4 separate regions of the Homo sapiens genome follow, and regions 1, 2 and 3 are each linked to region 4. The links are contacts of gene promoters, found by promoter capture Hi-C in blood cells and fetal thymus (Javierre and others, 2016). All regions are on one chromosome and are shown on one strand. The core of a region is centred on a gene start or on the middle of the fragment in contact, and the rest is flanking DNA. Distances in the headings are between cores, read along the strand shown.

What was found. Contacts are between HindIII fragments. The CHiCAGO score rates a contact against its expected background, and 5 or more counts as called.
Region 1: a fragment that was not itself captured here is called in contact with the fragment with the promoter of TMEM119 in region 4 in 1 of 17 cell types (neutrophils); the score reaches 5.7 in neutrophils.
Region 2: a contact is called between a fragment that was not itself captured here and the fragment with the promoter of TMEM119 in region 4, in 1 of 17 cell types (erythroblasts). The highest score is 5.1, in erythroblasts.
Region 3: a contact is called between a fragment that was not itself captured here and the fragment with the promoter of TMEM119 in region 4, in 1 of 17 cell types (neutrophils). The highest score is 6.9, in neutrophils.

Annotation. Positions count from the first base shown.
Region 1 is chr12:108,883,559-108,890,478 of GRCh38, forward strand. DAO (D-amino acid oxidase) reads left to right here. Exons shown (of 11, transcript NM_001917.5): 2 at 1,440-1,642; 3 at 3,892-4,006; 4 at 5,911-5,987; 5 at 6,650-6,715. The coding sequence starts at 1,449. Among named protein-coding and RNA genes, the nearest start is that of DAO, 6.9 kb to the left of the region's middle. RefSeq lists a silencer at 6,742-6,920. The HindIII fragment of the contact is 8,263 bases long and covers 1-6,726 here.
Region 2 is chr12:108,957,474-108,963,850 of GRCh38, forward strand. It overlaps SVOP (SV2 related protein), which reads right to left. Exons shown (of 16, transcript NM_018711.5): 6 at 3,450-3,574. Among named protein-coding and RNA genes, the nearest start is that of SVOP, 60 kb to the right of the region's middle. The HindIII fragment of the contact is 2,296 bases long and covers 1,838-4,133 here.
Region 3 is chr12:108,933,235-108,940,261 of GRCh38, forward strand. SVOP (SV2 related protein) reads right to left here. Exons shown (of 16, transcript NM_018711.5): 9 at 5,593-5,721; 10 at 4,030-4,103; 11 at 961-1,037. Among named protein-coding and RNA genes, the nearest start is that of DAO, 57 kb to the left of the region's middle. The HindIII fragment of the contact is 4,586 bases long and covers 2,352-6,937 here.
Region 4 is chr12:108,596,562-108,603,794 of GRCh38, forward strand. TMEM119 (transmembrane protein 119) reads right to left here and starts at 1,523. Exons shown (of 2, transcript NM_181724.3): 1 at 1,409-1,523. The HindIII fragment of the contact is 3,678 bases long and covers 1-2,048 here.

The sequences.
Region 1 (6,920 bases), core at 1,345-3,844, 290 kb after region 4:
TACCAAGAACTTTTGCTAAACTTCTTATTTAATCCTTAAAATGACCCTGTGAGATTGGGATTAACCCTGTTTTGCAGATGAAGAGCTTGTGTCTCCAGAGGCAAAGTATGGGGGAAGAGGGAAGAGAGAAGACCAAGGGTCCCTGAGAGGGGCTGTCCCCTAAGCCCCAGTATCCAAGCTCGGGCTCGAAGCTGGAAGGAGAATTGCCTAGAGGAACGATACCTTTCTGTTTGTTGGTTCTATCTCCAACTTGGCTTCTGAAACCCCAACAGAGTCCAGTTCTTGTGGGCTGGAGCCGTTTTCCCTCCTTTATAAAACTAGGCCATATTAAGAATGTCCCGCTGTCCAGGGCCACAGGCCCGAGTTGCCAGGAGCTGAGGTCTGCGGGAGGAGAGTTGTGAGTGAAGATGAGGGAAAGTTGAATTTGGCTCTTCTGGGCACAAATAATTCTCTTGTTCTGCCTCAGCAGGAGCCTGCAGAATATTTCCCTGCTGTGCGGGCTTAAGTAGCTTCAAGGTTAAAAGCTGGTAGGCCTTCTAAACTTCTCAGGGCCCAATCAGCCCTGTGCCCCAAGGCAGGTGGAGTTCTGTGCTGGAAGACCAAGTTCTGAGGCCAGACACTGCGTCTGTCATGCTCATAGCTGCATTTGCTAGCTGCCAGCCTGGCACATGGTAGGTGTGCATTAAGCGTGTGTTGAGTTTACTCAAATTGAAATTAAGTCACAGCTGTACCATTTAACTGGCTGTGTGACTTCAGGTAAGTCACATCACCTCTCTGAACCACAGTTTCCTCCTCTGTAAGACGGGACTGATAACAGCAGCCCCTACCTCATGACAGTGTTGGGAGACTTGGATGAATGGATGCTTGTGAAGCACTTAGTGCCGGGGCCAGCTGGCTCACAGTAGGTGCTCCACAAATGTCAGTATATTACTTCTTTTGCATCAGGCAGCTTGTTAAATTTGTTACGTTTGGCATCTTGTTCAATTTCCCATCCATCCCCTCAAGCATAGGTTATTAGAGGTTGAAGCATCTTGCCCAAAGTTAACGGCCAGTAGGTGGCAGAGCTGAGTCCTGAAGCCAGAGCCCATCGCACTAACCACCGGCCTACCCAGCCTACAGTTGGTCGTGCCCTCTGCTGGGTCTTTTCTATTCCCAGCCCAGAAACTGGGTGTCTGGGGACGCTCCCCAGAGAAAGTTGCATCATTCACCAGCCGTGTGACTGTGGCCAAGTCTCGGTCACTTCTCCATACCTCAGTGTTTCCATTTGCAAAACGGGAACAATGATATTCCTTCCTCCTAGGGGTCATCGGGAAGGTCAAATATAAAAAGGGCTTGGTGGTGTCTGGCACCTTCTAAGCCTTCAGTGGATGGTGGCAATGGCGCTAAGGATGATGGAGATGATGGTGATGATGTTGTGCCTCAACCCTTCCTTCCCACAGGCTGCTGCAATGCGTGTGGTGGTGATTGGAGCAGGAGTCATCGGGCTGTCCACCGCCCTCTGCATCCATGAGCGCTACCACTCAGTCCTGCAGCCACTGGACATAAAGGTCTACGCGGACCGCTTCACCCCACTCACCACCACCGACGTGGCTGCCGGCCTCTGGCAGCCCTACCTTTCTGACCCCAACAACCCACAGGAGGCGTGAGTGAGGGTCACATAGGGTAGCCTGGGGTGCCCATGGACCTAAGTCTGCAGAGGGAGTCAGGGTTCCCATCACCAAGAGCAAGCCCCTTGTGGAAGCTCTGATCTAGCATAAAATAAAGAAAATGCCAGGCGTGGTGGTTCACGCCTTTAATCCTAGCACTTTGGGAGGTCGAGGTGGGAGGATCACTTGAGGCCAGGAGTTCCAGATCAGCCTGGGCAACGTGGTGAAACCCCATCTCTACCAAAAATACAAAAAATTAGCCGGGCATGGTGGCGCACACCTGTAATCCCAGCTACTCGGGAGGCTGAGGCAGGAAAACCATTTGAGCCTAGGAGGTGAAGGTGGCAGTGAGCTGAGATTCCGCCACTGCACTCGTGACAGAGTGAGACTCTGTTTCAAAAAGAAAAAAATAAAGAAAAGATTCATAAATATTAAGCCCCTTGCTCTGTGCCAGATACTAGGAGGCTTTGTCTCGTCTTCCCTAAACTGGGTGCCTGTCAATACCACATGATTGGTGAATCTGGAAAACTTCCTCTGTTTTAATTTATACATTTTTATTTATTTTTTGAGATTGTGTTTCACTCTTGTCGCCCAGACTGGAGTGCAATGGCGTGATCCTGGCTCACTGCATCCTCTGCCTCCCAGGTTCAAGCGATTCTCCTGCCTCAGCTTCCCAAGTAACTGGGATTACAGGCATCTGCCACCACGCCTGGCTAATTTTTGTATTTTTAGTAGAGATGGAGTTTCATGTTGGCCAGACTGGTCTCGAACTCCTGACCTCAAGTGATCTGCCCACCTTGACCTCCCAAAGTGCTGGGATTACAGGCATGAGCCATCATGCCTTGCCAAATTTTATCTTTTTAAATAGAGATAGGGTCTCACTATGTTGCCCGGGCTGGTCTTGAACTCCTGGGCTCAAGTGATCTGCCCTCCTTGGCCTCCCAAAGTGCTGGAATTACAGGCATGAGCCATCATGCCTTGCCAAATTTTATCTTTTTAAATAGAGATAGGGTCTCACTATGTTACCCGGGCTGGTCTTGAACTCCTGGGCTCAAGTGATCTGCCCTCCTTGGCCTCCCAAAGTGCTGGGATTACAGGTGTGAGCCCTTGCACCCAGCTGAATCTAGAAAACTTCTAAGTGGGTGAACATCTAAGTGGGTGGATGGATGCACAGATTTATCAAATAAATTGCAAAGGTCATTATGGTAGTTTAGAAACTGCCAGATGGTTCAGCAAATGGAACACCCAATGAATAGCAGCTCAAACAGATTAAAAAAAAATTTTTAAGAGGCATCCTGTCACCCAGGCTGAAGTGCAGTGACATGATCATAGCTCATTGCAGCCTTGACCTCCTGGGCTCAAGTGATCCTCCCACCTCAGCCTCCCAAGTAGCGAGGACACACATGCATGCTATCATGCCTGGATAATTTTCTTTATTTTTTGTAGAGCCAGGGTCTTCCTATGTTACCCAGGCTTGTCTCAAACTCCTGACCTCAAGTGACCCTCCTGCCTCAGCCTCCTGAAGAGCTGGGATTATAGGCATGAGCCACTGCAACCAGCCAGAATTTTAATTCACACAGCTGTAAAAAACCAATGATTCTGATCAGTGGGCAGTGATTCGGGGCCCAGGCTCCTTCCATCTAATGGCTCTGCCGTTTTTCCACGTGCTTTTGAGGTCACCTCAATGTCACCATTCACATGGGCTGGTGACTGCAGAAGGATCATGCAGGACCACACGTGCAGAGTCTTTAGAGTCCCTTGGCCAGAAACAAGTCACACAGTCACATTTAGCTGCGAGAGGGTCTAGGAAATGTAGGTGAGCTGTGTGCCCAGGGGGAGGAGGAAAAGTTGTAGGAGCGGCAAGTCGATGTCTGCCACCAGTGTTTACAAGGAGGGGTGCTTGCAGCCAGACTGAACAGTGTGGCTCATAATCCCCAAAGCCAGGTCAAGGACTTCACTGAAACTCATCAGCCATGTAATCCCATGCTGGAGGTGCACTCCATATGGTTATGATGGGGCATCCTTCATTCCCTCTCTTCTTTATTCTATTAATGGGGAAATATTGGAAAATTTAGGAGGGAGAAGACCCAAGGCATTTGGGGAGTTGCAGGAGTGAACGTGGTGGATTTCTGGGTTTTGGACACACCCCAAGCTCCTGATCATGCCACAGCCCCATGCCAGCTGACCTAAGGTTTTTTGCCCAGCTCAGGGCATTGGGTGATCGAACTCTTCATGACCCTTCCAGGGACTGGAGCCAACAGACCTTTGACTATCTCCTGAGCCATGTCCATTCTCCCAACGCTGAAAACCTGGGCCTGTTCCTAATCTCGGGCTACAACCTCTTCCATGAAGCCATTCCGGTGGGTGAACAGTTCTTGACCATGAGGGATGAGCACCCAGGGCTGGGGTAGTGAGGGTGGGTGCAGCAGAGCCTTAATCACAGATGAGGGCGGGGTGCTTTGAGTCTCGTAGGCAACAGACTCCTGGGTTCAAAACAGGTTTGGTTTAAATTCTATTTTTGCTTTGAAAATTATTTTTGTTTTACATTTTGCTGTTAAATTGGCAGAGGACAAAGAATCTTCTGATGCCCAGGGGAAACTAGCCTTTGATTAGCATGGCTAAAATACAAACATGTTCTGCAGTGACGGGCACTTGGTGCTGAAGCCAAAAGGTTTCAAGTGCCCCTGAAGGTCCCAAGGCTTTTTATCAAGAAGGAATAAAATACTCATCAAAGCAAAAACTGCCAAAGCATTTATTATGTGCCAGGTCCAGTCCTAACTAATTTACAGCTAGCGACTAATTTAATTCTCTTTATAACCGGGAGGTAAGGGCTGTCCTTATCCTCACTTAATAAATGAGAAAACGGAGGCTCCAAGAAATGGAGTAACTTGCCCAAGGCCACAGAGCTCGCCAGTGGCAGAGCTGGGATTTGAACCCAGGCCATCTGTGACTCCATGGTGTCCAGTGTGCTAACAGGAACAGCACAGCCCTGGGACGGTTTGCTCAGGCTCCTTGGAGAGGGTGGTCTGGCGCTGTGCCCAGAGCCCCGTGCCAGCTCTCAAGGTTCATTCAACCTTTGGCACTGTGCTAAGGGCTTTATCCACATTATCTGTTACCTTTCATGGGACCAAGAGTATTTTTTTTTTTTTGAGACAGGGTCTCACTGTATTGCCCAGGCTGGAGTGCATTGGCATGATCTCGGCTCACTGCAACCTCTGCTTCCTGGGTTCAAGCCATTCTCCTGTCTCAGCCTCCTGAGTAATTGGGATTACAGGTGCGCACTACCACGCCTGGCTAATTTTTGTATTTTTAAGAGATGGGGTTTCACTATGACGGCCGGGCTGGTCTCGAACTCCTGACCTCAAGTGATCTGCCTGCCTTGGCCTCCCAAAGTGCTGGGATTACAGGCGTGAACCACTGCACCCGGCCAAGAGTGATTATTAACTCCATGATACAGACAAGGAAACTGAGTCTCAGAGAATTCAAGTAGCAAGTGATGAGGCTGGGGTCTCTGACACTATGCTCTGTTGTCTGACACTATGCTCTGTTGCTTTCTCTCATCCCCGGGGACTCTCACTGTTTCTGCTTTCTCTCCCCTATTTCTGACTTTTCCCCTATAACTCACCCTCGGTCTTACTCTTACCCTTACCATAAATAGGGGTTAAGAACATGAACTCTGGAACTAAGCTGTATGGGTTAAAATCCCAACACCACCATTTATTAGCTGTGTAATCTTAGACAAGTTATTTAATCTTTCTAAGCCTCAATTGGTCCATCTGTAAACTGGGGAAAGAATAGCATCCACCCCAATGGCTTCTTGTGAAGATTAAATGGACCAGTATAAGAAAATGCTTGGAACAGTGCCTTATATGCACTTAGCATTACATAAGTCTCTGTCATTATCATTTTTTTTTTTTTTGAGATGAAGTCTCGCTCTGTGGCCCAGGCTGGAGTGCAGCGGCACAATTTCGGCTTACTGCAACCTCCAGCTCCCAGATTCAAGCAATTCTCCTGCCTCAATCTCCTGAGTATCTAGGATTACAGGCATGCACCACCATATCTTGCTAATTTTTGTATTATTATTTAGTATAAACAGGGTTTCACCATGTTGGCCAGACTGGTCTGGAGCTCCTGACCTCAGGTGATCCACCCATCTCAGCTTCCCAAAGTGCTGGGATTACAGGTGTGAGCCACCTCGCCTGGCCCATTATCATTATTATTGACTTCCATCCCACCCAGTGCCCCCTTTGTCCTTCCTCTTCAGGACCCTTCCTGGAAGGACACAGTTCTGGGATTTCGGAAGCTGACCCCCAGAGAGCTGGATATGTTCCCAGATTACGGGTGAGTTTATTGTCACAGGCAAAGGGGACTGGGGCCTGACGAGTTAGCAGACCTGTCCAGAAGGCAGCAGAGGGTAGAGGCACCAGATTTCCTGTCCTACCCAGGCCCTGGTACCCTGGTCTCCTGGTCCTTGGTCCAGCTCCTTCAGAGAGGCTACCCACTCAAACCTGGCCTTGGGCTGGGAAGGTAGGGGGTATGAAATCACAGATCTCAAGCCCAGAAGCTCCATATCACCATATTGTTTTGTAGATGAAGATACTGAGTTTCAGAGAGGCTAAGTGACTTCCTAAGGTCACACAGCCAAGTGGCCAAACTGGGATTCCAACCAGTCTGTATGACCCCACACCCCTCCTTTCTTTTCTCTACAGCCTGATGCCTCTCTGGTCTTCTCCTCACCCCACCCCACACCACACCTGAATCCCCTCTACGAATGCACATTCAATCTCCACTTGCATTTTCCAATGTCAGATATGGCCTTTTCTGATAGAAAAATTTTCCTTGCATTGAGCTCAAAACCACGTCCCCCCTTGAACTTCACGTAGTGGTCCTGGCACTACCCTTTGGGCCCACAGAACAACATTGCTCCCACCTCCATTTCACAGCCTTCAAATATAGCTCTGATTTTTACCTTTATTTCCACCTTTTGCTTACTGTGACTCTAGCTATGGCTGGTTCCACACAAGCCTAATTCTGGAGGGAAAGAACTATCTACAGTGGCTGACTGAAAGGTGAGATTTTAAGCTTCACTTTGAGGGAGGTACCTCCCAGAGACCAAGTTGTAGTGGAAGATGGTTCGTGGGCTTCCCTCAGCATGGACTAACCCCCAGGTTTGAAGAATACCCTTAGGCCTGGTGTGGGAGCTATCCTTGGTCCTGATCACCGCTGGGCACAGAGGCAATGGATCCTGAGCCTAGCTGAGCATCAGAACCACCT
Region 2 (6,377 bases), core at 1,736-4,235, 360 kb after region 4:
TTAAGCAACAGCTGCTACCCAGTAACTTTGGGCTCCTTTGTGTCAAGAAATGAACAGGCAAGAAAAAGAGTCACCGTGGGCTCCTTGGGTCCCATGTCAGAGAAATTGATCCTAACCACCATTAAGACTTAATAAGCCCCATCTATCATAGGGCCACCCAGGTGATATACCAGACATCTCTTGGTAATCTCCTGCTCAATTTTGGTGTTAAATGGACAAGCGCAGCAGCTATGGCCTAAAAGAGGCATGGCGACCAGGGACTCGAATCCCTTAGGCATGAGATCTCAGTCACCCACCCAGGTAAACCGTCTAGATCAGCGAGAGTGCTCGCTGAAGCTGAGAGGAATTTAGAATGGGAAGCAGAGGTGGGAGACATTTGGCCTTTTGGCCAAGGCAACTTCTGCAAGGAACTCAACTGTGAGCTCCATTGGCATCCATTGCAGCCGTGAGACTTTTGCAGAAAAGAGATTATCCAGAATCCTGGAGGAACTGTTCTTAGGCGGGGTGAGCTGATTACAATTATGGGCTGCATAACACATTTGAGTCAACAACAGACCACATATATGATGGTGGTCCCATAAGATTATAATACTGTGGTAATTAATTAACTTATTTATTTTGCAATCTTTTATTGAAGAGTACTGCTTCGTGCAGAGCAGGGCTAACTCATAGGCAGTGCACCCAGAGTTGGCCTATTTTCATTATTCTTTAATAGCGAGGGGGTCTAGCTATGTTGCCCAGGCTGATCTCAGACTCCTGGGCTCAAGGGATCCTCCTGCCTCAGCCTCCCAAAGTGCTGAGATTACAGGTGTAAGGTACCATGCCTGGCCTTTTTTTTTTTTTAATTTAATACTGTGTTTCTACTGTAGGTTTTCTATGTCTAAATGTGTTTAGAGATGCAAATACCATTGTGTTCGAATTGTCTGCAGTATTTAGCACAGCTACATGCTGTACGGGTGTGTAGCCCTGGAGCAATAGGCTATACCGTATAGCCTAGCTGTGTAGGAGGTTGTCCCATCTAGCTTTGTGTGAGGACAGTTTATGATGTTTGCACGGTGACAAAATCACCTATTGATGCATTTTTGGAACACATCCCCATCATTAAGTGACGCATGACTATATTTGAAGCAAGTGGGTCCACCCTGGACTGTGGAGGATGCTGTGATGTGCTACTTGGTCTGCCCTTCAGGACTGAGGCTTTTATTCCCTCCAAAATGAGCAGGAGCATTGCCTGCCAGGAGCTGAGTCCCTTGCAGAAGTTGCCTTGGCCAAAAGTAGCTGCCTTGCCTAAGATCATGCTCCATCCTTGAGGGCAGCCCACATCCGATGCCTGGTTGGTGTGAGGGTAAAAAGGCCTAGCCCCCCCGCCCCAATCTGAAACACCTCTGAAGGGCCACCTCTGCTTCTGAAACCCTGTAAGCTGACCAGAGGCCTCTGTGGCAATGGTATGGCAACTCAGCTTCCCCCTTCGCTGGTCCTAATTTTCTCACTTTCTTACAGGTGTTAATCCTAGTAACCACCTGCACAGTAATCTCCATCTCAAAGTCTATTCCCCAGGATCCCATCCTAGAACAGGGACCATGGTGCTCTTGCTCAATGCTGCGTCCTGGCACCTAGCATTTCTAGGTACTCAAGAAATATTGGTGGAATAAATGAATACACTACAAGGGATCGCCCTGGTCCTCTTGCAAAATTTTCCTAATGATTCCTTACCTCCAAGCTGTTCTACCTGCCATAGCCAGATCCATACTTCTAGGTACCTCCGCTGCTCAAGAACTCTCAGTGGCTCCTCATCACCAATAGAATCCCTTTGGCCTGGCATTTTAGGCCTTTAACAAGCTTGCCCTGGCCTACCTGTCCAACCTCAGCTTTTAATTCTTTTTTTTTTTTTTTTTTTTGAGTCAGAGTCTCACTCTGTCATTCAGGCTGGAGTGCAGCAGTACGATCTTGGCTCACTGCAACCTCTGCCTCCCAGGTTCAAGCGATTCTCCTGCCTTAGCCTCCCAAGTATCTGGGACTACAGGTGCCCGCCACCAAGCCCGGAAAATTTTTGTATTTTTAGTAGAGATGGGGTTTCACCATGTTGGTCAGGCTGGTCTCAAACTCCTGAGCTCAAGTGATCTATCCGTCTTGGCCTCCCAAAGTGCTGAGATTACAGGCATGAGCCACCGCGCCTGGCCAGCTTTCTCTTACAGATCTCATCCCTCCAAGCTGACCAACCAGACAATTAGCCTTCCTCAGCCTCAGCTACGGCTTCCTCTTTTCATGTGGTTCACTTCCTAGAAAATGTCCTAGATCTTCTCCAAGTCTCCTTCTGGGTCTTTCCAAATCCTTTGCCTTCTTAATAGCAAGGCAGTAAAATGCAATGGGTATAGAGCCCAGGCACTGGGGTTAGAAGGTCCAGTTCCTATTCCAGCTCCTCCACCACTTCCTGGCTGTGTTGCCTAGAGCAAGTTACTTTACCTCTCTGTGCCTCAGTTTCTTTATCTGTAAAATGGGGTTAATAATAGAATTTACCTTCTAGGGAAAATGAGAGATTAAAGGAGATCATCTGGGTAAACCGTTTAGAACAGCACCTGCCACATAGTTAACACTAAATATTGGCTATTATCATTTTTTAGGGTGGAGTCCAACACGCATTTTCTATAATGGGCCACATAGTGAATAGTTCAGGCTTTGCAGGCCATATATCTGCTGAAACTACTCAGTTCTGTTGCTGTGGCATGAAAACGACCATAGATAATACATAAATGGAGGGTGCGGTGTGTTCCAATAAAACTTTATTTACAAAACCAGTCAGCAGGTCGAATTCTGCCCGTATGCCATAGTGTGCCAATCTCTGCTTCAGGGCCCATCACAAATAGGAAGTCCTCCTCGATGCCCCAGGAGACAGTGGCTTCTTCCTACAGCTCTGAATATTCTCAGTACCTTAAACTACAACAGCAACAGCAAATTGCTGCCTGAGTGACATGTGGTTAGCATCATACTCTGCCTTGCGTTTAGGTAGGAAGAGCGTGGGAAGCAGCATTCATGGTAGCTAAAAGCATGGATATTGTAGTTACCCACCATGTGATTCAGACAGATGATTTCACTCTCTGAGGCTCAGTTTCCCCAACTGTAAAACGCAGATTGCAATAATACAATAACACACACCTCTTGGGCTGCTGCAATGCGTCCAAGTGGAACAGTCAATCAATGCTAGATGCATTATCATTTCGCTTTTACAACCTTCCAGCCATTGTGTTGTTTTGCTGCTGTTGTTGATCATAACAATACTGATAATGATGCTATTTTCTTGCTACACCATAGCTCCTTGATCCTGGAAGCCCTGGTATAGCTATCTCTGCACCCCTGCTGCCCCATCTCAGCCCCTAACTCCTGATCCAGACCATGAACAGACACGTGGATGGGCAGCCTGGCTGCATAGCCAGCACTGGGTATTTACTTACGACTGGGGAACTCCTCCGATCCCGAAGCCCACCAGGCCCCGGAGCACCAGGATCCAGCTATACACGGGCGCAAATGCACTAAGGATGCCATAGTACAGAGTCCACAGCACGCTGATCTTCAGCCCCTGAAGAGAAGGAAGACACGGAATCACAAGGGCTTTTCAGCACCTCCAGGTAGCGTTTGCACCTCACTGAGAGCCGCCGATAATGGGGTCACATTAAAGGGAGCCTACACAACCAAGGGGGTACTGGGTTCCTCTGTATGGGGAGTGCCAACCCACAGGGGTTGGGTGAGAAAATCATGGGGCATTCTTGGTTGTCCCAATGATTGGCATTGAATGCCAATCTGGGCCAGATATGTCAGATATTCCACAATACAGGAGACAAAATAGATTGTCCTGCATCTCATACCATCTCAAATGTTCTGCCCGACCATCATGCAGCTGAAACTCTGTTTCTGATGATCTGCACCTAGACTTTTTGCTCTGTTTCACACATTCAAGACTTTTTTTTTTTTTTTTTTGGCATAGTGTGAATATACACTTAATTTTTCAGGAACGCAACTTTCAGGTAAGTCAAAAGAAAATTTACTTTGTTTTACCTGGAACTTTACAAAATTGTTCTTTTCAGAAAACCATGCTGTCAATGACAACGCTGTGTGCAGCATTTGAGTCACTGATGGGAAGCTTCAGTGTCAGCTTTCACTCAGGGTTTATCTATGAATACACTGATCTAAACCTTATTTTAAAAGGTCAAATGTAAAGAAAAACCATCAACAATATTCAGTTAAGTCCAAACGTATTTACAATCAGGGGCAGATATTGACCCCTTCCTCTTGTCATCTAGACAGAGTTGTAGGTAAACATTTGCATATTAAAAATAAATTTTATTTTATTAATGACGTTTTAAATTTCTCCCTCCTAGTTAGCACTTTAGAACTGATTTCTTTCTTTTTCTCATTAACAAGTTTATTTTGGCATCATTATTCTAACATCTATTGTACCAGGATAAAACTATATCAAAGTATAACTGTACTGAGTGATATTTTTACTATGAAGAATAAAACATAATATAAAGGCAGTTTCCTGTGCGGGCAAACTCATTTTGAAGTTATTTTAATGAATGACATACTCTTACATCCTCCTAATTTGCAAATGAAACAAGTAACTTATTTCTTTCTTATTTATTTATTTTGAGACAGGGTCTCATTCTGTTGCCCGGGCTAGAGTGCAGTGGTGCAATCTCGGCTCACTGCAGCCTCAACCTCCCGGGCTCAAGTGATCATCCCACCTCAGTCTCCCATGTAACTGGAAGCACAGATGTGTGCCACCATGCCTGGCTAATTTTTGTATATTTTATAGACATGGGGTTTCACCATGTTGCCCAGGCTATTCTCAAACTCCTGGGATCAAGTGATCCACCCACCTCAGCCTCCCAAAGTGCTGAGATTACAGGTGTGAGCCAACACGCCTGGCTGATTTCTTTTTTAAAGTACGTGAATGACTAGGTTATTTTATCTTTGGAAATTTTTTCTGGATAGTTAAGAAGGCGTTATTCAGTGTTCACTTTTTTAAAGAAATGGAGTGTTGCTATGTTGCCCACGCTGATCTTGAACTCCTGAGTTCAAGGGATCCTCCTACCTCAGTCTCCTGAGTAGCTGGGATTACAGAGGCACATTTTCCACATTTTTAAAGTAAAGAGGGCATGTGTTCAATAGGGTCAAGAACCACAGAGGGACACAATGCTTCAAGACAAACATGGGGCCGAGCACGGTGGCTCACATCTGTAATCCCAGCATTTTGGGAGGCTGAGGCCGGGGATCACTTGAGGCCAGGAGCTCAAGACTAGCCTGGCCAACATGGTGAAGCCCTGTCTCTACTGAAAATGCAAAAATTAGCCAGGTGGAGTGGCGGGTGCCTGTAGTCCCAGCTACTTGGGAGTCTGAGGCAGGAGAATTGCTTGAACCTGGGAGGTGGAGGTTGCAGTGAGCCAAGAACTTGCCACTGCACTCCAGCCTGAGGGACAGAGTGAGACTCTATCTCAAAACAAAACAAAACAAAACAAAAAAGACAAACATGGCACATATTCCTGGAGTGTTAATTACCCTTAGAGATTGGAAAAAAAATTAAGAGTAAACAAATACTATTTTTATATCACAATCAATGCCAAATATGAGAGGGTAAAATGCAAATTTCACGTGCATTTTCAACCTGCTCTGTGAGGTCTGGTCAGGCCTCTTTCTGCAATACCCTTCCCAGAGCTCCAAGGGTGAGTTCACCTTCCTGTCCCCCAGGGAACACTTCAGGGGGCAAGTATGAAACATACTGATTTTTTGCTTTAAGATATTAAACTGAATTAAAGGAGATGAGTGAGGAAATTTGGAAGCCTACCAAATGATTTCGAGTCTTTTAGAAAATGACTTTATGTGGCAGAGAGAATATTTTAAATAATTTTGCATCACCTCACAAGAAAGTTATTTTTTTCATTTCAGTCTTCATTTTTATGATTATGTCAAAGAGTCCGTGAGGTGCCAGTCTGTCTTTAACACCTATTTATCTATTTGTATTTATTTATTTTTTTTTTGAAATAGAGTCTCGCTCAGTCACCCAGGCTGGAGTGCAGTGGCACGATCTCAGCTCACTGCAACCTCCGCCTCCTGGGTTCAAGCGATTCTCCTGCCTCAGCCTCTGAGTAGCTGGTATTACAGGTTTGCACCACCATGGCCAGCTAATTTTTGTACTTTTGGTAGAGTAAGTGTTTTGCCATGTTGACCAGGGTTTCGCCATGTTGCCCAGGCTGGTCTCGAACTCCTGGACTCAAACAATCCACCCACCTCAGCCTCCTAAAGTGCTAGGATTACAGGCATGAGCCACCACACCCAGCCAACACATTTTAAAAAATAGCTACTCTCCTCTCTATTTAACACAG
Region 3 (7,027 bases), core at 3,395-5,894, 340 kb after region 4:
GCTATTTCTTTTTGCACCTGTAGTCCCAGCTACTTTGGGGGCTGAAGTAGGAAGATCTCTTGAGCCCAGGAGGTGGAGGCTGCAGTGAGCCATGACTGTGCCACTGCACTCCACCCTGGGTGAAAGAATGAGACCTTGTCTCAAAAATAATAATAATAATAGGCCAGGCACAGTGGCTCACACCTGTAATCCCAGCACTTTGGAAGTCCAAGGCAGTCAGATCATCTGAGGTCAGGAGTTTGAGACCTGCCTGGCCAACACTGCAAAACACCATCTTTACTAAAAAAAATACAAAAATTAGCCAGACATGGTGGTGCCACCTGTAATCCCAGCTACTTGGGAGGCTGAGGCAGGAGGATTGCTTGAACCCAGGAAGCGGAGGCTGCAGTGAGCTGAGATCAAGCCACTGCACTCCAGCCTGGGCGACAGAGCAAGACTCCGTCAAAAATAAAAAATAAAAAAATAATAATAATAAATTTAATAATAATAATTTTGAAAAGGAAGATTCACAGCAAACCATGTGAAGGGGCCTAGTTTACCTGAGCTGGCTGACAAGAAAATCTGCTCTGTTTTAATCCAATAAGGAAAGTCACTTTGAAACAACCCACCTGCTTTTTGTTCCCTGTTTCTGTTTTCTTCAGCTCTTTTCTACTGATTCATAAATCGCTGTCCGCTCAGATAAACTCTTCAAAATTACCTCTGTTTTTCTTTAATGTGCCTTGGTTTATGTTTTAACAGTGCGAACTTCAGAGCCCAAACCCTGACATAAGATGTGGCTCCTCTAAGATTAGCTCCATCGCGACAAGACTGTCCAGGTTTCTACAGAGTGTCTTGGAAACCACAGAAGTAGTACAAGGCCAATCCCTTAAGGGCAGAGCCTGGGGTGGGAGTGTGTGCATGACTGTGTATGTGCCGAGGGTGTGGGAGTAGTTAGCTGGCAAAGACAACCAAGATACTCACTGCCGCAGACATCTCCTGCCTGGAAGAGTTCTGTGGTGAGTAGAACTAACCCGTAGTAAGAGAATGCATTGGAAAACCTGCCAGGAGAAAGCAAGAAAGGTAAAGAAATGATCAGAGGAACACCAGTCCCCTTTCCCTACCCCCTTGGGAAGGGCCAATGTCTACAGCAGCAGGGACCAGTCTTTGGGCTTCACTGGGATTTTGGGGGCTTTACTGGGGACCTTGAGCAAGAAGATGGTAGGTAAAAAAGCATCACGATATGATCAAAGGGAAGTGATCCTGTGTCCTTTGAAAGACCAAGAACTGTCAGAGGTGTTTGAACCAGAGCACCTCCATCTTGAATAGGGGTTGGGTAAATGAAGGCTGAGACCTACTGGGCTGCATTCCCAGATGGTTACGCATTTTAAGTCACAGGATAAGATAGGAGGTCGGCCAAGATACAGATCATAAAGACCTTGCTGATAAAGCAGGTTGCAGTAAAGAAGCCAGCTATGAATCCACCAAAACCAAGATGGCGATGAGAGTGACCTCTGGTCATCCTCACTGCTACACTCCCACCAGTGCCGTTACAGTTTACAAATGCCATGGCAACTTCAGGAAGTTACCCTATATGGTCTAAAAAGGGAAGGCATGAATAATCCACCTCTTGTTTAGCACATCACCAAGAAATAACCATAAAAATGGGCAACCAGGAGCCCTTGGGGCTGCTCTGCCTATGGAGCAGCCATTCTTTTATTCCTTTACTTTCTTAATAAAGTTGCTTTCACATTACTCTATAGACTGGTCTTGAATTATTTCTTGCATGAAATCCAAAAACCCTCTCTTGGGGTCTGAATCAGGACACCTTTCTGGTAACAGAACTATGCTATACAAGAGACACAACACCTCCAAGGCTGTCTACCCAACTGGCAATAGGGGAAAAATGGGACCAACCTCTGGAAGAAAACAGCCCCATTAATATCTTTTAGGGCTCTGGGTCAATTGCGTCAACTTGGACATGTGATTTTCGAATTTCAGAGCAGAATGACACCGTTTATTAATTCCTGGCTGACCCAGAAATTAGAATACTCAAGTTTGCAAGACCGGAACCTTCTCATCCAGTAGAATAGTTATATGAAAACTCAGTCATAATCAGAAGCCAGTGATTCATTTCCTTAGGTTTCAATGTGTGCAAGCAAATGTAGTGGCTTTCATAATGCACTAAAATTAGTCTCTAATTAATTGCTTCAGTATTCAAGGAGCGTTGGCCCAACCAAATTACATGTGCTCAAAGGTGGGTATTCTCAACTCTGATGCCCCACCATCCTTTTAAAAAATTCTGCAGGCTCACTGAGTTAATTGAGCTCTTAGGAATTCGGGGCAGAGCTAGAGTCCGTTCTGTATATTATCAAAGCTTTTTTCTCCTCTTCCCTGTAATTGACCACCTTGGGGACACTTCCCTGTTAATTAGCACCTTTGCTAAATGGTGAATAGAAAAATGAGAACTGGTTAAAATAGAACATAAAGCCTTAAGCCAGGCCAATTTTGTTCACTATTAATGCTGTGTACATGAATTGGTGCAAAGAGACTTGAAAGATGACTGCAGCTCCAATTCATTGTGGAGTTTAAGGTGATTACACTCTCCAAATACCACCCCCAACCCACACCTTCTGTCTCCACTCCCTTCCATGGGTATTATTTAAGAAAAAGTCCAACAGGATCAGAACTGGAACTTAAAAGGATGCCCATGTTGACCAAATCAGTGGTTCCCAAAATACGTGCCACATGCCACCCCTGTGGTACCCAAGGGGCAATGTGGGCTACAGGGAAGACACTGACATAGTATAAATACACACACACACACACACACACACACACACATGTATTTTTGAGACAGAGTCTCACTCTGTTGCCCAGGCTGGAGTGCAGGGGAGCAATGTCGGCTCACTGCAGCTTCTGTCTCCCGGGTTCAAGTGGTTCTCATCCCCCAGCCTCCCAAGTAGCTGGGACTACAGGTGCCCACCACCATGCCTGGCTAATTTTTGTATTTTAGTAGAGATAGGATTATGCCATGTTGGCCAGGCTGATCTCGAACTCCTGACCTCAGGTGATCCACCTGCCTCAGCCTCCCACAGTGCTGGGATTACAGGCATGAGACACCACACCAGCCCATATAGCAGAAATATTTAATCGTATTGTGAAAGAAAAATTACTTTTTAAGTTTACTTTCAATCCTTTCAATCCTTTTAAATTATATCCCAGTCTCACTTATGTGCTAATGAGTCCTTAACACCTCCCCTCTCCCATCTCTTTTTGTTTTGAGACAGGGTCTCACTCTGTTGCCCAGGCTGGAGTACAGTGGCATGATCACAGCTCATTGCAGCCTCAACCTCCTGGGCTCAAGTGATCCTCCCACCTCAGCCTCCTGAGTAGCTGGGACCACAGGTGCATGCCTCCACACCCAGCTAATTTAAACATTTTTTGTAGAGACAGGGTTTTACCGTGTTGCCCAGCCTGGTCTCAAACTGCTGGCCTCGAGAGATATTCCCACCTTGACCTTACCAAAGTGTTGGGATTATGGGCATGAGCCACCATGCCCAGCCAGCCTTCTTATCTCTTAAATACAGAGGCTCACTGCCTCTGCAAACCTCCGTCTAGTTACTTTTGCTGATATTTCTCTTTAAGAGTGCCTTCTATCTGTGACTTGCAATTAAGGTGTTTTCTTTTAAAGTAGAGTTATAAGCCTGGTTCAGCGGCTTACAACTGTAATCCCAGAATTTGGGGAGGCTGAGGAGGGAGGATTGCTTGAGTTCAGGAGTTCAAGGCTGCAGTAAGCTAGGAGAGCGCCACTGCACTCCAGCCTGCACGGTGATTAAAAGCAGTCAAGTTAAAGAAAAAGATGAAGGAAATGATAGTACGTACAGATGATAACCTGGATATGACGGAAATCAGGAGGATGATGTTCGAACTACTGAAATTTGCAAACGCTGCCTGAAATCAAAGTGCTATCTGTCCATTGCATTAAAACAAAACCCAAAACAGGGCACAGGGAGTGGAAAGGGGTCAAAGTGGTCAACAAACAGCTCTTACCATATAAACCACAGCAGCAAAGTTGTCCATCTAAAATGGGGTGTGAAAAGGTCCCTCATTTTGCCTCGGTCTTCCTGTTTCAAAACAAGGACATAGTGTTTATTCTCTCCCCTACAGATGCACGGGAGATGGGCTGGTGGCCTGAGACTAGTGCACACCAGGCTGGGAGGAAGGTTTCTAGTAAGTAGGACACTGGAGCTCTGAGAACCCAGGTCTCAAATCTACAGGACGCAGCCTCCCAGCCCCTCCAGCCAGAACCCAGCCATGTCCAGGGGCATGATCCCCACAGGATGGATCTCACGCCCTCCAACCTGGAAACCTGGACTTGGGAAGCAGATCCCTCCTTCCTGGCCCCTCAGACCTCAGCACAGATCCAAGGACACAGCAAGCAGAAAACCAGTCCAAAGCATGTCCAGCCATTTCACACACACACATGTGCCTTCCCCAGTTCTAGGTCTAGGTGGCAACAGTTAATGTGCTGAGAAACTAATTCACCAAAGGCCAATTTACCAAAAGATTGATTAGCTAAATGACCGATTGGCCAATTTTACATAATTCACAAATTTATCAAACTTTGCTTTACGATGTTCTTTAAAAAATATATGCTATGGCCAGGTGTGGTGGTTCGTGCCTGTAATCCCAGCACTTTGGGAGGCCGGGGCAGGTTGATCACTTGAAGCCAGGAGTTCGAGACCAGCCTGGCTTTCCCTCATCCATGGAAGGGATCTCTCCCCAAAGGCAACCAAATAGGCTTCTGCACCTCTTGAGGAATCCATCCTGCTCTGCCCCTGTAGATTTGGGGCAGGTCCCCTGGACTCTATGTTGTCAGACCAAACACCTCCTTCCAACTTGGTGAAATGCCATTCAGTTCTTCTTGCATAATATAAAAAGAATCAGAAATATAACTTTATTTTAAAAGGTAATTTCTTTATAGGATCTGATGTCTGCTTAAGGTATTTGTCATGTTTCTTCAATCGGCTTGGATGGTTCTTGAGGGCAGGGACTGCAGCCTTAAATCCGAATCTTTTCTCCCCATGTGTGCAATGCTGGTGCCTACATATACTAGGTGCTCATTAAGTTTCACCGTGGTGGACTCCCTGATGGTGTTACCAGCGGAGTGAGGCACCATTCATTAAGAACACCTACACAGGGTGCGGTTTGATCCCCTAGATCTAAGCACACTCCTTCCTGATATGGTTTTATTGCACAGCTTTTGCCAATCAGTCTCATTCGCTAGTCAGACTTCATCTGTGCTGAAAGGCGAAACCAAAGCAGGAGCAGTTACAGGACCCATTAGCAGAGGTTACTTTTCTCTAATCACTGGTGAAATTCTCCAGGAAGCATTTTTAGAACTTGGAAGTGAAAATACAGATTGGAGTTGCCAAATTACCCTTGCAGGTCCTGTCTACTGGGCCCTCATCTGCTCCATGTGCACGCACACACCCCACCTTGGGTACACATACCCACATGTGTCCTCGCATGCATGCCCTACTCCATATGCACACACTCCCCTGCATGCACCCCGATACGCACATTGCAGAGTCTATTGGTCCAGGCACTGACCTGTCTGGAGATGATGAGTTTCCCCAGCGGCATGGGAGCTCCGTTTTCAGTTGCTATCCTCTTTAAGGTGGCGATTGCCTTTTCCTGGTTCCCTGACAGCACATCATACCTTGCACTTTCAGGCAGCCACTGGGATGGGGGAGACAGGAAACCCAGGCGTGGCTGGTTAGGGTGGAACAGAGCACTCGCTTCTAGCCACACAGTGTTGCATGTGGGGTCTTTAAGAGTGGGGGCTCTGGAGCCAGAGAGCTGACTTCAAATCCTGGCCCCACCATTTATTATGTTGGTTGTGTGACCCTGTACAATTACTTGACTTCTCTGTGCTTTCATTTCCTTCTCCATAAAATGTGAATGATAAGAGATCCTACCTCTTAGGGCTCTTAAGAGGATTAAACAGGATAATACAGGCAAGGTGCCTAGTGCAGTGCCTGGTATGGGTTAATGCAGTTATTATTATTGTCACGGTTGCTATTACTATTATTTGGGGCTGTTTTCAGAGTTCCAGGTGAGGGCTGAATTAAATTAAGATCACTGTCAGAAATCTCACCCCCATTGTTCAAGGAATTACACCTCACCTGTATTCAGCATCATCTTGCAAACTCAGTTCAAGAGAAAGAAAGAAATCAGAAAGATTTTTAGGCCAATGGAAGTCCCAACCCCAAATGACTACATACATACATTTCTGTAAAAATGGAGCAACAGCTGTTTGAAACAGCAGGTATACTGGAGAAAAGACTAGGAGTTAGAAGATCTGATTTAGAGTTCTTTTGTCTACTTGCTGTAGGCCCTTTAACAAGTCAATTAGCCCCTCTGGGCTTCAGTTTTCTCATCAATAAAAAGAGGATATAGCAGAGAGTGCAAATGCCCACCAACATTCTGTTTCCTTTTTCATAGCGCAAAGTTGTCCTTAGATGTGGCTGCCCAGACAGGGACTACATTTCCCAGCTCCCTTTGCATCTAGGTGGGACCAAGTGACTTGTGTTCACCAATGGCATATGAGCAGACTATTCCTGGCCAAGGTATTTAAGAAGTGACTGTGCAGTCTCCACTTGCCTTTTGCAAGTCTGTTGTCTGTATGTAGAAGACTTCAAAGCCCTAGAGGATGGCAGAGCCACCAGCTGGACAAAAACTGGGCCCAGAATTCCACTTGCCAACCAGAAAAGTCATTCTGAACTATTGTGTTAGTGAGAGAGAAGCTCCTATCGTGCTGTTACTGAACTTGTGGGCTTTATTTGTTTCAGCAGCTGGTATCACCCTGACTAATATAGGGGTTCATTATAGTCCTGTGATTATTGGGAGGAATAAATATGATAATGCATGGAGCACAGAGCCTGCCACACAGTTAAGCTTAATAATTATTAATACTTATTATCATTACCAGGAATTTTTGTGGTATTTACCGTACATGAGAACTACCCATCTCTAGGCTTATTTT
Region 4 (7,233 bases), core at 273-2,772:
CCAGGGAAAGGTGGGGGCAACGTATGGAGGACCCAGCCCCACCTGCAGTCAGCAGAGCCTCAAAAAAGATGGTTGTGTGGCCCTGGACGGCCCCTGCCCTCTCTGGGCCTCAGTTTCCCATCTGTGGAATGAAGCACTGTTCTGGGCAGCTCTGAAGTCATTATTCTGCCTACCTCCCCCCGGACCCTAATTTTTTCAAGGACTCAGAATCTAACAGGCCATTAGGAGCTGGGGTCAGGCCCAACGCCTCTTGCTTCACCTTAGAGGTAACTCAGGTCCAGAGACTGGAAACAGCCTGCCCAGGTCACACAGAAAGTCAGGGGTGAGCCCAGCAGAGCCCTGGACAGAGAAGCCTGTCTTGGTATATCCCAGAGGAGGTCACTTCCCGGCTATGTGTCCTTGGGCTGGGCATGTCACCTCTCTGAGCCTCGGTTTCCATATCTGTACAATGGGGATAAGAGCCACCTCCCTGGACTGCTGTTAGGACAAGATGCGGCCATGCCTGGTGCACAGTGGGTGCCAATTAGCAGGTACCACGTGATTGCCCAGGACTCCCTGCCTGGGGACATGTCAGGCAGGGCTGGCCGTGTGTAAGTGTGGCAAATGCCCTAAGATGGTCCTGAGTCTGTGGAGGAGTGCAGATGCACCCCTGAGGCCTGGGGGCCCCAAGACTTGAAGCTAGGGGACCGGGGGCTGCCCCACCCCCACCCAGAGACTGGTGGCCTTTGGGGGAGGGGCGGCCCACGGAAACCTGGCTTCAATCAGTGGCCTTGTGGGGGAGGGGTGTTCTGGTTGGAGCACTGCACATGCCCCCGACCCCAGGGCCAGCCAAGGACAGGGACCTGGGCCCTGGAGGTCTGGATGGGGAGGGGGGTCCTGGGGGCACAATCCCCCTCCACACACACACACACACACAGAGCAGCATGGACACACAATATAAAGACACACAACACAGGCACACCGACTCACACAGCACTGAGACACCCAACAGCACTCTCATGGCCCATGCACACAATACACAGAGAACACACACGGACACACAACACATATACATACACAACCCCCTGACACACAGCCGATCCCTGCACACAGGACAATACCGTCCACATCACCCTCACACAGATCCTGGAAGCAACAGCCTGGCATCCACTTGCAGAAAAGTGGAAGCAACACACCCCCTACACCAAGGCCCCAGCCGCACACACACAACACTCCGGCCCACCCTGGCCCACCCCAGCACCGCACACGGGACTCAGATTCCACCACACTCATGCACACAACACCAAACACACACTCAAAGCCCACACACACTTAGAGAGGCCCCCCAGAGTGCTCCAACAGTCCCCAGTCCCTAAGCTCCAAGATAGCTCCAGGCTCTCAGGACAGAGGAGGGGACCCCAGGACTCACCAGTTCCTTGGCGTACAGGACTGGGTGCTCCCGCCGAATGGAGCGAGAGTGGGGGGCACCTGGGCTGGAAGAGAGAGTCCGTGCTGGTGCCCGGGGCTGCTCTGGGCTGGCGCCTGCCCGCCCTCCCTCCTCCCGTCCCTCCTCCCGTCCCTCCTCCTTCCTCCCTCCCCGGCTGGGCCGCAGGGCCAGCTTGATTTCATTAAGAGGGTTTGGGGTGGGGACAGGGGGAGGGGAGGGGCTACTCTCGGGCCACACGCAATCCCACCCTTGCTCACACTCTCGCTCTGGGGAAGACCAGATGCGGCACTTCCTCCCTGACCTCGGGTCCCCAGGGCAGGCTGAGACAGACAGACAAGGCTGTCCTGCAGCGCTCCCCCAGACAGTGAGCTGGGGTTCTGCCCACGCTGCTGCCCAATACCCTCCAAAGGGGACAAGCTCAGGGAGGTTCAGAGGCCTCTGGAAGTGGGAAGGAAAATTCCCCGTCCTTGTGTGGCTCAGGCTTCCAGGCTCAGGGTGCAGCGTGGGAGCTGGGATTCGTTTTAGAGACAGGCCTGATGGTGGGTCCGAGCCTGAGACAGGGAGCCCAACTCTGCCCTTCCCTCTCCAGACCTCAGTTTCCCATTTGTAGGGATGGGTGGGAAGCTTTCTGGGCTACCTCTGACTCTGATGTTCTGGGATCTGTGGCCTCACAATGCCCCCAAATGATAGTAGCTTGAATAGGAGTTGGAGCCCCATTTCACAGAGGGGGAAAGTGAGGCAGGGTGAGTTCTAATGGTTCAAGCAGGGTCCTGAGGTGAGTCAGTGGCAGGCCTTGGAACCGGGACGTCTGGCTGACCTGAGGAGTCCTGTGGATTAGCAGCCCCTTGCATTCATTCATTCATTCATTCATTCATGCATTCATTCGGCAAGTGCTCAATGAACACCTGCAGCAGGCCACGCACTGTGCTAAGCAAGTTCCAGAGGTGAATCAGGCACAGCCCAGCCTTGGGGAGCTCACAGACTACCAGGGAGAAGGACACCGAGGTAAATTACTTTTTTGCCAAACAGAAAGGGGTCAGGTCAAGGGCTCCGAGAACCCCAAGACAGAGAGATCAATCCCCCAAGGGAAAGAGGTAGGAAGCCATCCTGGAGGGCATGCCTGTGTATGAGCAGAAGCGGGCAAAGCAGGCCCTGGAAAGGCATTCCGCATGGAAGGACCAGCGTGGGTAAAGGTATGGTGGCTGGGAATGCCACCACGCACAAGCCACCGCAATTAGATTAGGCTGGAGCATGGACCAAAGAGAGGATCATGTAGTAAGGGTCAGAGATGTTGACAGGAGCCAGGCTAAAGTCTCGGAAGGTCGGAGGCAGTACGGAGCCAGTGAGGGTTTGGAACAGGGGAGTGCATGAAGGATGAGTGCGTGCTCTCTGGGTAGGAACCAAGCCTAGATTATCATTGTTCCCTGCAATGGTCCCAGCAGCCCTCGCTCACCCCCAGAAAACTGGGACAGTCATTTGCTTGGGAAATAAAATCAGAGACTTTCCCATCTTCTCTGGAAATCACCCCAAACCCTGCATCTTCGAGGGAACAGGGGACCATCCACCAATACTCGCACAGACACATTCATGCACACACATGTCCCAGGGGCAAGTGGCCACCCACAGACATGTTGTAGCAGCTGTGCCCGCTTTAAGGTGGCCAGGGGTGTTCCAGGCCTACCTGACCTGTCTTAGACCAGACATCGGGTGGTCAGGGGCAGCCAAACCTCCCCCAGGGCCCACCAGCAGGGGAAGAAGACCTTACCCAACATTCTGAGGGCTGCAGTCTGGGGACCTTGGGATGTCGAGGAGCAGGGACACAACCAACCCAAATAGAGCCTGCTCCCTGCACAGGTGGCCCCAGAGGCCCAGCCTGAGGGAAGCTCTCGGAGTCCCCTTCCCCTCGTTCTTTGCTTCTCCCTCCTGGGCAGAGCATCCCCCTGAAGGAGGGGTAGTAAGTGTTGGAGACATTGGCAGGAGCTGGGCTAAAGTATTGGAAGGTCACCTAGGAGGCAGTAGGGAGTCAATGAGGGTTTGGAGGGTTTGTTCTGGGATCTGTGGCCTCACAATGCCCCCAATGATAGTAGCTTGAATAGGCGTTGGAGCCCCATTTCACAGAGGGGGAAAGTGAGGCAGGTGAGTTCTAATGGTTCAAGCAGGGATCTGAGGTGAGTTAGTGGCAGGCCCTGGAACCAGGACATCTGGCTGACCTGAGGAGTCCCGTGGATTAGCAGCCCCTTACATTCATTCATTCATTCATTCATTCATTCATTCATCTAGCGAGAGGCAGACAGACCCACTTCAAATCCTGCCTCCACCATGTCCTGCCCCACATGGAGCCTCTGTTTCCTCCTCTGTAAAATGGAGATGGAGACTCCCTACTACTCGGAAGCTGGCAGGGGAAGGCAGAGGAGCTAGGGAGCATGCACGTGCTCAGCAATGTCAAAAGCACAGGCCAAGGCCAAGGGTATAGTTCCCTGTTGCTGCTGTAACAAATGACCACAGATTAGAGGCCAGAAGCCACTCACATTCATGCTCTTGCAGTTCTTTTGGTCAAGAGTCCCAAACGGGCCTCGTGAAGCTAAAAATCAAAGTGTCAACAGGGCTTGCGTTCATTCTGGAGTCTTGGGGGCGAATCTCTTTCTTTACCTTTTCAAGATTCTAGAAGCTGCTGGCATTCCTTGGCTCTTAGGCTTCTTCCTCCACCCTCCCGGCCAGTGGTAGCAGGCAGGGTCCTTTTCATACCACCATCTCTCTTCCGGTTCCCTTTCCCACGTTGAAGGCCCCTAGTGTTGACGTTGGCCCCACCCTGAGGATCCAGGATAATCTCCCTGAGAGCCTTAATTAACCATATCGGCAAATCCCTTTTGCCAAATAAGGTGTGACACACTCAGCTGGGTGCAGTGGCTCACACCTGTAACCCTAGCTACTCAGGAGGCTGAGTGGGAGGATCACTTGAGGCTAGGAGTTCAAGACCAGCCTGGGCAATCTAGTGAGACCCTGTCTCTAAAAATTTTTTTTAATTAGCTGGGTGTGGCACATCCCTATGGTCCCAGCTACTTGGGAGGCTGAAGTGGGAGTATTGCTTGAGACCAGCAGTTCAAGGCTACAGTGAGCTATGATCATGACACTGCACTCCAGCCTGGGTGACAGAGCACGACCTCAAATCTTAAAAAAAAAAAAAAGGTAACATATTTCCAAGTTCCAGGGATTAGGCTGTGGGCATCTTCGTGGGGAGGGGCATTATTCTGCCTGCCACCCCAAGTTGAATATTACTATTACTGTCTCCCTATGGGTCTGGAATCATCCACCCACAAATCACTGGGTTTTGCTCCCCCAGCACTGTGCCTCAAATACAGCAGGCCCTTTATGTGCTTGTGGGGAAATGAATGAATGCAGGAAGCCCACTTGGTGGACACAGAAACTGCAGTTCATGCTGGAGCAACCTGCCCAGAATCAGTTAGCATGTTGGGAGGTCAGAGCCCTTTTTTTCTGCACTGGCCCCCGTGTCAGCAAATCTCGAAATGGGACCACCCCCCTCCCAAGGGGCCCGTTCCCGAAAATAGGGCTCCTACCTCCCTCTGTCCTGTTGAAGGGCTTTCCCACCATGTCAACACACCACACATCACACGCTACACACACACACACACACACACACACACACACACACACACACACACACACACACACAGGCTGTCCTTAAACTGAGCATCCCTACCCACAATCTGAGGACAGAACAATGACAATGTCAGTCACTGATCAGAGGCAAAAAAGGAGCCCCAAGTCCCAGCCCCAGCTCAGGCAAAGACTGTGGGCAACGGAGCAAATCACTGCCTTTCCCTGGGCTGTGGCTAAATGTGGGGTTAGACTAGATGCTTGGCACAAGCCTGCCAGCCCTAAGACTCCAATTCTCTGGTACTCTAAATTTCATTCCTTCTATAAATATTTCTTTTTTTATGTCAATATATTTTAAACTTTTTTTTTTTTTGAGACAATGTCTCACTCTGCCACCCAGGCTGCAGTGCAGTGGCACAATCACAGGTCACTGTGGCCTCGACCTCCTGGGCTCAGGCGATCCTCCCACCTCAGCCTCCCAGGTAGCTGGGATTTACAGGCATGAGCCACTGCACCCAGCCAATGTATTTTTAAATTTCTAAAAAAAAATTTATGGACACATAATAGTTGTACATATGTATACAAATATTTCTTTTGACCTTAATTGCACACAGGCCAAGGTCAGGCCCTGGGAGGCAGTGATGGACAAACAGAGACACAGAGTTTACAGAGTAGCGGGGAAACTTGCAATGAGCAAGTAAACAAACAAATGAATATCTAACTGCAAAGTGGGCTAAGAGTTGGAAGCGGTAGTTCAGGGGCCAAAAGAGCACTTGTCTGGGAGGCTATTCTGGCCCCGAGCCTCATAGGGGCCTCCATGAAGAGGTGACGGTACGGCTGCTCTTAAAGATGAGGAGGAGGCATTTAGAAAAGCAAGGACGCAAGGGAGTGCCCAGTCACTATCAGTGCGTGCAAAGGCCCTGAGGTGGGTGGCAGTGCAGCACCTTCCAGGCAGCTCCTGAAGATTATTGTCATTGCAAGGGTCCAGGAGCCAGGTCTTCAGGCACCAGGAGCTCTGCCTGTTTTGTGAACTTCGCCACCCAGGACAGTGCCTGGAACACCATGGGTGCTCCATAAATGCTTGTTGACTGTGTGAATGACCGCTCTGACCTCCACGCTTGCATTTTCTTTCTTTTTTTTTTTTTTAATTATACTCTAAGTTCTAGGGTACATGTTCACAATGTGTAGGTTTGTTACATATGTATATTAACACCGCATGTTCCCACTCGTGGGAATTGAACAATGAGAACACTTGGACACAGGGTGAGGAACATCACACACGCTTGCATTTTCAGGTTTGCACCAGGTAGCGCTCTGAGAGTCCGCTCCAGCGGCTCCTCGTTCATCCTAAGAGACTCATGTTCCACGTTCTCTAGTTCGGGGGGCCTGTTGTGGGGCCCAGCCGGGATGCTCCTTGTGGACTGCACTACTATGGTTCCCAGGGGCGCAGGCAGGCCTGTGGCATGGAGCAGGCTGTGCCGCTCACTTGTAGCCTGTAATTTCAGAGGCATAGAGTGGCACCTGGGCCCTCTGCCCGGCCTAGGAAGGATTCAGAGACCTCACCCTGTGCCCGCCGTGCAATTAGCCGCCGGGGTCCCCCGCCCTGGTGGGCAGCCATGGCTAGGGAGGCAGGGAGGGTGAGGGGAAAACCCACCCCACCTCGATCTGTGCCAGGGTCCTCCCCATCTGCTCCTGGGGCAGCCACCCTGCCCACCACAGCCCCCAGCTCCAGCCCCTCATGGGTGCAGGGCCTCTTCTAATTACACAGTCCCAGTGGCCACTGGAGCCTGTCCTCTGGGCAAAAATAGGCCAAGCCTTTCATGTGGCAAGAGAGGCCTGGGCTGTGGCCCCATTACAGCACAGGCCTGGCCTTTGGAGGGACACCCGTGGAGGGGCCTCCCGCCTGGCACTCCAAGGAGGCAGAGTAGCCTTGTCCCTGAGGACGCTGGCAGAGGCCCGAGGTGGGGTGGGTTTTTCTCCCACCCTCCCTGCCTCCCTGGCCATGGCTGCCCAGAAGGGTGGAGCTCTAGGTGTGTTGTGAAACCTCCTTGGGCCTCAGTTTCCCCACCTGTAAACCAGACATTTTCACTTATTCCCCAACCGTTGACTGAGCACCTGTGTGTGCCAGGAACTGTGCTGGGCACAGAGAGACAGCAGTGAAGGAGGCAGATGCTGCCACACCTTCGCTTGGG